2 separate regions of the Homo sapiens genome follow, and region 2 is linked to region 1. Evidence: promoter capture Hi-C in 16 types of primary human blood cells and fetal thymus (Javierre and others, 2016). All regions are on one chromosome and are shown on one strand. The core of a region is centred on a gene start or on the middle of the fragment in contact, and the rest is flanking DNA. Distances in the headings are between cores, read along the strand shown. Region 1 holds the start of ICE1 (interactor of little elongation complex ELL subunit 1). Region 2 overlaps MTRR (5-methyltetrahydrofolate-homocysteine methyltransferase reductase).

The links. The method cuts DNA at HindIII sites, captures the fragments that hold promoters and counts their contacts. A CHiCAGO score of 5 or more calls a contact.
Region 2: a contact is called between a fragment that was not itself captured here and the fragment with the promoter of ICE1 in region 1, in 2 of 17 cell types (naive CD8 T cells and naive B cells). The highest score is 7.7, in naive CD8 T cells.

What each region holds. Positions count from the first base shown.
Region 1 is chr5:5,421,427-5,427,616 of GRCh38, reverse strand. ICE1 (interactor of little elongation complex ELL subunit 1) reads right to left here and starts at 4,940. Exons shown (of 19, transcript NM_015325.3): 1 at 4,618-4,940. The coding sequence starts at 4,701. LOC101929200 (a long non-coding RNA gene) reads left to right here and starts at 5,488. Exons shown (of 6, transcript XR_001742583.3): 1 at 5,488-6,190. RefSeq lists silencers at 4,508-4,647, 4,708-5,037 and enhancers at 5,068-5,317, 5,183-5,693, 5,694-6,190. The HindIII fragment of the contact is 2,607 bases long and covers 4,421-6,190 here.
Region 2 is chr5:7,886,061-7,888,879 of GRCh38, reverse strand. MTRR (5-methyltetrahydrofolate-homocysteine methyltransferase reductase) reads right to left here. Exons shown (of 15, transcript NM_002454.3): 8 at 2,177-2,265. Among named protein-coding and RNA genes, the nearest start is that of MTRR, 18 kb to the right of the region's middle. The HindIII fragment of the contact is 454 bases long and covers 1,229-1,682 here.

The DNA of each region.
Region 1 (6,190 bases), core at 3,691-6,190:
TGGGAGTCCAGCACAAGTTTATGGACAGGCTCAAATCTGTTCCAAGGACAACCATACATCAAACTCACTGAATCTAATCTAGATACATGAGATGAACAATATAATCATGTGTTTCAAACTCTCATCTGGATCCCCAGGAGAATCCAACTGTTTTGCACTGCAGTGAAGTCAGCAAATATGGGCCTCTCCTTCATCAGAATAAAGAGACTATGTCAGCTTCACTAGCTTGACTTAAACACACACAACTTAAGACTTTACTTAACCATACATAATACATAATATGACTAGAGTGAGGACCCACACTGTTATATCTGACTGCCAAAGTTCTGCAACCCAGAACTTTGGGCATTGGGCTATGGATCAGCAATGAACTACTGTAATCAATGAGCGTAACAAAACAGATATGAAGTGATTTGTGAGACTACGAGCAAAAGACACAGAAAATGTAGTCAATCTGCACACTTCTGAATCAAATAATGATCTCTGCAAAGGTACTGTTATCTCTTCAACAACTAAAGAAAAAAAGGACAGGGAGGATTAAGAAATGAAAGGAAGATTTTCAGTGCAAGCAAACCACTATTCAAGACAGAGAGGCAAGTTAGCCTAACATTACAGTTCAGAATGAAGTCACAACACCAATATGGTTGCCTACCATTGGAAAGACTGACTCCTATGTTACACTTGTAAATTCTCTGCATGATCAAAAAGTTAAAACTATAGCACAGAATATCTTCTCTCTGTACCTCTTTAGTTTCTCTCTCACACGAAAGTTTAATTGAAATATGGAACTTCACGTAGTTATAATACATGCGAAAATTATTTCCAAAAAGCGGTTATCTACTAATTGACCAAAAGAATTGCTTTTCCTTAATTCTCATTCTTTCCGATCTTGGTTCCCTCTGGAACTCTTGATTCCCTCTGGAACGCACTCCCTGTTTAACCCTCTAACATACTTTATCTGTTTCTCCTTTCCTCACCATTCCATGTTCCCCTTCATCAAAGGCCACACATCAGCTAGTTGGTTTTCCGTCACTGACTCTAATGATAGCATGTAATCCCATGAATTGGCCTCATGGTTTCAAAGATTCCTTTAAGTGACAGAACATAATGCCCCATTTTCCTATCCTCACACCTCCCTTCTGTCAAATAAGCTTTTTTTTTTTTTTTTTGAGACGGAGTCTTGCTCTGTCACCCAGGCTGGAGTGCAGTGGTGGCACCATCTCGGCTCACTGCAACCTCGGCCTCCCAGGTTCAAGCAATTCTCCTGCCTCAGCCTCCTGAGTAGCTGGGATTACAGGCGCATGCCACCATGCCCGGCTAATTTTTGTATTTTTCGTAGAGACGGGGTTTCACCATCTTGGCCAAGCTGTTCTTGAACTCCTGACCTCGTGATCCACTGCCTTGGCCTCCCAAAGTGTTGGGATTACAGGCATGAGCCACCGCTCCCAGCCCAGATAAAATTCTTACACTGAACACAGTGCACATCTAACCTGGCCTGCTATTTCCTTGAGGGATATTAGGGCACCTTGGAAGCACTGTGTTCCACAAACATTAAATCTGAAAATGGCTGAACACTCCTAGTTCTGATGTCATTCCAACTTCAGTCCCTTCCACCTTGATTTCCTCTTCCTCCTGTATCTACCACAGTTCTCATGGTCATTTGAGTTTTAAACCTCGGGACCTTCCATTTCCTGACATGAGACCTGCCCATTCTTTACACTGTCTCATATTCAGAACCTTTTTCTTCTTTATTCCCCTTCCCAGGAACCTTCAATTACTTCAGACTTTTGTTATCACTATTATGTATTAGTAAAATAATTTACCATACCTAGTTGCACCCCCCTTCAATCCATCCTGCATACCACCGTTACTTCTACTACAAGCACTGTCCTAACGTAACTATGCAAAAACCTTCACCATCCCATAACACTGACAGAAATAAGTACAAGAATTTATGATGGTTACCATTCAAGGTTCTCTATAAACTGCCAGGAACCTATTTTTCTAGACTCACTTTGCACAACTACAGAATTCCTCCAGAGACTCTACTCGTAACTTTCCCCTAAAAAGGTAATCCAATTCCAGGCCACAGAAAATCCAAATGCAATAGTGTCCTGACCTAGAGAAGAACTCTGTAAACTAAGGCCCTACTCCAGTGTTTATAATGTTTCAATGGAACACAGGCATACTCATTTCTTTGTGAATTGTCTACAGCTGCTTTCACATGAAAATGGCAGAGCTGAGCAGTTCTGAGCAAGTCCCCAAAGCCTAAATACTTGTGATCTTGCTCCTTACAGAAAAAGTTTGCAGACCTCTGGATCTAGGATTACTCTTATTGATGTTTTGAGAACCCACAGCAGGAAATGTGGCAAGGGTAGAAGGAAGGAGATTCAATTTCTAGGCCATACATTAGAGTAGTTCACACCACGGTGGAAGCAGTGGAGATGTTGAAAAGTGGGTGAATAATGAAGGCAGAGCGGACACAATCTGATAAACTGGATACAGGTTATGAGAAAAAAAGAGCTGCACCAAGGATGCCATCTAGTTTCTGGCCTAAGCAACCAGAAGAATACAGTTGCTAAATTTAACCATAACAGATCCATGACTGAAAAGCACAGTTCACATCAGTAGTTCTTCTGCACAAAAGCCTCCAATGACTCACCATTTCCATCGCCCAAACCCCAACAATGGTCTACAGGAGCCCACACAATCAGGCCCTCCTCCTACCTTCCTGACTCCCAGCATTCACTCCGCTCCAGCTTCACTGGCCTTCTTGCTCTTCCCAAGCACACCAAGCCAGCTCCTGCTACAGTTCTTCACATCTGATGTTTCCACTGTATGGGAGACTTTTCTTCCAAGATTTCTACAGAGCTTATTATTCTCTCACCTTTGCTCCAATATAAACGTTCCAGGACTCCCTACTTAAATTCCAACAGCCACTGGCCTAGTCCTCACCCATTCATTCCCTCCCCATCTCTGTTCAATTCATCAACAACGTTTTCATTACCCTCTAACATAACTCATTTGTTTCATTTATCCTGCCACCCTCCTAGAACGGAAGCTCCAAGAGATCAAGAATTTTTGTCTTTTTCTCCCCTAATGCCATAATTGCAGTGTCTAAAATACGGCAGGTGATCAATAAATGTTTGTTGAGTGAATTGGCTCGAATAATAAATACAATGTATTAAAGATTCGGGAGAACTCCAATCACGTTCCTGGGGTGGTGGTGGCGGGGGCGGGGGGGCGTTATAAGATACCTACACAATGCAGCTCAGTGAAGGCAATGATCTGTTAGTTCTCCTTCTACTCACAAAAGCAGCACATTTCCTTCCTCCCCTTCCTTCAACACTTAAAATGTTTGCAATCAGTTCACAGATATTGCACTTAAAATGCAAACCAAGTTTCTCGGCATGGCCTACCTAGCCTGCACTCCCGTCTGGTCTCATCAACCATCTTCCGTGTGCACTATGCTCATGCCAACCATACCATGTTCTGCTCATCAAAGACACCCTGCTCCTTCTCACCAAAGGAACCTTTCCACCTGTTAATCCCTCTATCCAGGAAGCTCTTCCCACATCTCTTCTGACAGCCCGATCCTTCCCATTATTCAAATATCTGAAAGTTACTGACTCAAAAATTCCCTACCTGACTACTCTAGCTAAGAGACAAGACCAATATTCCAACATCCTCCTTTATTTTCTAACACCTAAAATCTTCTGAGGCCTTATTCACACATATGCATCTTACTTATGAGAGATCCTATTTTGTTCACCACAATGTCTGTAGTTCCTAGAACACTAGGCAGAGTAGGTAATGAGGTGCTGGTGAGTTCCGTTTTATCACTGAAACCGCGATAGTAGGAAGTTAAAAGAGACCCCCGACATCAGGCAGCTAGGAGAGTCGTGGGAAATGAGGGGCACTATTGCCCAAGTACCACCCCATAAGATCTGGAGCCATACTCTAGCAATTCTCCCTTATGTCACTCTAAAGAAGAGCCCACGCCGCTGTTAGAAACCTCCAGTCTCTGCATGCCTTTCATAAACTACTTTTATCAAACAACTGACAAGCTACTTGACCAATTACTTGGCTTGCTTTTTAAAAAATTAGCCTCGGGATGGCACATCTGCTATAAGCTGAAACGCCTCCCTAGACTCTTCGAGTCTAAGACTCAGACAACCCACATGTCACGTAAGATTCTGCCTCCAAACAACAAATACTCAGGATGGGCCAGAAGACCAAAGCGTTATCCTCAGGGAGATAACTGCCCTCGGCGTTTCACCTGTCCCTCACTGACCTACGGAGTCTGCCCTAGGGAGCTCCGAGGCCGGGTAGGGAAGGTGGGGGGCCCTCCAAACCTCGCTTACTCCACCCCCACCGTTACACCAGCGCATTCCAGTCAATGAACTCTGGGTTTCAAGCTTAAATAAAGCAAAGAAAGCCGTCCCCAAAACTCATGTAGGAAAAAGAGAGCAGAGAGACGAGCGAGCAAGAGCTACGGTTGGGAAGGGAGAGCAGCGCACTGAGGCACAGCCCGCGCGGCCGGACCCCACATCCCTGCGCTCCCGGCCGGCCGAGCCGAGTCCCCCCCCGCGCCCGGGGCCCCGGGAGGTGCTGCACCTGCTGCAGAGAGGCGCAGCCCTGACATCGCGACAGGTCCGCCGCCGTCCCGGGCGCCGCCGAATGGGTCTCGCCCGGCATCATGGTGCCGCCGCCGGGCCCGGTGGGCACGCACGCCTCAGGGGCCCGCGGCGTCGGCCCCGTCCTGTCTCTGCTGATGCCGCCGGGGCCGCCGCCTGCCAGGCCGCTTCCCGCCAGGTCCGGGCGGGTCCATCCGTGCACAGAGGTCCCCGTGGGGCTAGCAAAAGGCTCTCCGAGCCAGAGCTGCCTCAGGCACTAAAAAGAAACGCTACCCGGCGCGGCCCCCGAGCGCGACGCAGTCCAGTCAGGGCCCCGCCCCGCCCTGGCTCGCCCCGCCCCGCCCTGGCTCGCCCCGCCCCTCCCCTGGGCGCGGGGCTGCCTAAGGCGCTGCCTGAGCAACACCGGGAGAGGAGCTGTGCTATGCGGCGGGGGAGACGCCCACAGAGGAGCAGCCAATAGGAGTAGAAGGATCGAAGGTGCATTCCTACCACTGTTAAGGGTCGATCCTTTATTGCCACCTTGCTGTACGACAGGCTTTCCATAGACACCTAAAGGCCTCCGCTATGTGGGCGGTGACCCGCCCGTGACGTAAGCTCCAGACGCCTGAGAAGTGGAAGGACCCGGCGTCCAGGACAGGAAAGTGCGTGATTTACAGCTAGAGGGATAGGCGCTGTCCCGGAGCCCGTCCTGGGCCAGGGAGCAGGAGAGGGAGGGACTACAGTTCCCGACGCGCTGCGGGGCGGGCGGAGATCGTGCGCTTCGGCGCCAGTTGCACGGCCTTAGCAGCCAGTGGCGGCTCCCCTGCTCCTGTAACAGTCCCCTTGTCTTCTGACCTTTCGCTCCTCGGTCATGTGTCCTCGCCGGTCGCCGCGGCAGCCAGTGATGCCCGAGCGGCGGGTTCCCAGGCCCAGGTGTGGGCGCCACCGCCCACCATGCGCCAAGCCCAGAGCCTGGTTGAATCGTTCGCCACCTTGTCTACCCATTTTGGCCATTATCCTGCCACCTCCAAATCCTGTTTTTGACACTTCTCGGGAGAGAGAGAAAACGGAAAGATAAAGGAATAAACTCCTCGTGGTCGTAGTTAGTGGGTAAATTCAGATCTCGTTTGAACCGAGGTTTTTCTTATCTCCAGCCACCGTATCCACCACCACCAGAATCGTCTTTTTAGTCATCACAGCTGGTCGCCGTCAGTACCTTGTTCAGAAGCCTCTCGCAGCTTCCATCGTGTGGTTATACAATCCAAATTCCTTATAAAGTCCAAATTCAAGAGGAGGAATGCACGTTTAGTTAAGTTAATGTCTAGACCTTACCAGCCAATTTCTAGCTCCTCAGTATGGAAATTGCAACTGAAAACACCCCTTCCAAAAAAAGCAGTCTGCATTTTTCTCTGAGTTTTCTTCTCCAAATTTCGCACCCCTGACCTTGCTTACACACTCTGGATACCACCTGCTGTGGAGTGGCGGAAGCAGACATCCAGCGATAGCTAAGTTTCCTGTCGTTGACACCCAAGCAAGACAGGCGTGTACCTAACTGAGGACCTGCCGGTGATAGA
Region 2 (2,819 bases), core at 206-2,705, 2.5 Mb before region 1:
AATAAAATTCTGAATCTCAATTCTCAAAGTCTAAATTCCTGAACAAAACATCAAACTTGCTAGTAAGAATTTTTTATTTCAATGCAATTACAAGTTATTAATTACAGGCAGACATAGCTTATTTCTCAAGGGCTCTTTAGGAACAAAGCACTTCAGTAATTATCTGCATCAAATGTTATGTGAAATGCTAATGGGTACTGCTACTTTAAATTCCATGGCTCAAGATGATTGTGTCCTGGACTTCCTTAACAGGGAGGACAAAATCACTGTTCCCAAAGGAGTCACAGGTTTCCAAAGGTTTGGCTGAAGAATCTCTGTCTAAAATACCTGGACACTAACAAATTACACGTGTTCCTCCAAGTGCCAAACTCAGCATTGACCAAAAACAACGACTCAGGAAACACTGCTGAATGGACGCCCCAAATCTCTGCAAAGACTTTGGCAAGATAATAAAAACATCTACCAATAACAGTTTGTAAATTCTAAAGCCAATACAATCTCCTAAATTAAAAGCTAAAACAGTGACAATTTTTCCTTTAACATACTTTTTTCACTTTAGAACTACAAAAACTTTATGGTACTACAACAGGAAATACTGCACTGTTTTTGGAGAACAAGATGACAAACCTGACAAACATTACTACAATTTAAAATGTAAATATTTTTAAAACAGCAATTCTACTCCAAGGAATTTGTTTTACAAATATACTTCAAGTAAGTGTTCAAAAATTAATACAGTACAAGAAAGTTTGCCTTTTTTAATAGTGAAAAAGCAAAAATGACTCAATTGCCCATAATTACATCAACAAATAATGGTGTATCCATAGTATCCATTAAAACTCTTTCCATCCTGAAATATACAGATTCTTGATTTAAGTTAAAAAGGCAAGTTATGGAACAGCACATATAATATGGATACCCATATTTTCCTCAGGAAAACAAAATTCAAGTGTTAACTCAGAGGGTTTGATTATAAAATACTTTGGTTTCCTGGGTTATTTCTGTATCCAGAATTTTTCCAATGAGCATACTATTTTTGAAAAAACCCATATATATATATATATATATATATATATATATATATATGCACACACACACACACAAATATATACATACACACACATATATACACACACATATATATACACATATACAGACATACACACACACTTTACACAAATTTTAAAAGGGTAGAGCTGAACCAAAATTGTGACTTAATCGGTAAGCTTTCATTACAGTAAATTAATTCTAAATACTCAAATTACATCTCGAGCTGATTACCAGGAAAGGAAGATGGAATATATATATATATAAATCTATATATATATAAATATACATATATTTATTTAGAGAGCTGAGCCTCTCTCTAAAGTACTTTACTCACCCAAGACTAGAAATGCAATAAACACATTAATAAAACGACACGAAAACCACACTGGGGAGATGGCGGCCTAATTACAACACTCTTTATGCTCACTGACAATACAAGTGTGGCAAGGCACATTTGAAAAATTGTATCCATTAATGGCCACTTCCGGGAGCTGGTTAGAAGAAATCAGTTACAAGTAGTTTTAAAAAAACAGTTCCTGGTACAATACTGACATCTAGTGGATTATTCTACCTCCAAGTTCACATAATAATTGATTATTACCTACCAAAACCCTTCCATTTTTCCTGAAGCTTTCTGTTACAGCAATAAATAGTTATGTAGTATTACACAAAGTAGATCTTAACAACTGTAGGAAGTGGCAAGTGGTGGTTGGGGGGAATCCTACGCTCTCATTAGCTTTCTGTCACCAATTAAAGAAGGAGCAGCAATGTGTAGCTGGGTAACACAAGGTCAACTGCAGTCACCTCCATCACTGTGGAATGTGCTACGTAGTTAATAACTAGTAAAAGTAAGACAAAGAAAAAGCCCTATTTAGACTAAGAAAAAGCCCTATTTAAGCCCTCATTTCAATAGAAAACAAAAATTTAAATGCAAATACAACATAAAAAGATTCATAGATGATAGTTACGATGATAGCACACACCCTTGGGAACTAATATTAAAAACATGCTATCAAGATCACATTTTTTAAGACTGCAAAGGGCATATTCTAAATTTGTTTAATCAATCCTAAATAAAGCTAAGCATATTTTAAAATAGTTACCTGAAGAAGACAGAAAAAAATACCTTTTTAGGAATTGCTCGGATTTCAAGACACCAGGTAAAAATGAACTGGAGAGAACATCCCGCAGGTATATGCTGGGGTAAGGTAGCTCCTTTTCAGGTAAAGACGGGAAAGGGGTTCATGACATAGAAGATGAAGAATAAAATGTTTTACACACTCCCCAAAACACAATTACTGTAGTACTTTACAGCGCATCAAAGTGCAACATGACTTGTGGCAATGTTTATTCAGCCAAAAAAATTCCCCAAAATGAATACAGTAAAAAACTCCACCTTACAAAAACATAAGAAGACTATAAATTCAAGATAGGCCAAATAAAAGAAAGGAAAATTATTTAAAATTAAGGAAATGAAAGCTAAAAAGACAGCAGTACTCCATTAGCATTATTCTTCTCAAAAAATCAATTTAGGACTACTTCAAGATTCTAAGTAAATAATATATTTATATTTTGAAAAATAAATAACTTCTCTTAATTATGGAAAAAGCAATTATTTTATATAATAAATGAGCAAAAACAAACATACTATGAGAAGTAAACATAATAGGAAAAGAATTTTTAAAAATAACCTAGGCCAATGCTTCTCAAAAACTACATTTACACTCAGTTTTCATGTCCACAAATGTCCAATAATTAGAACATCCATT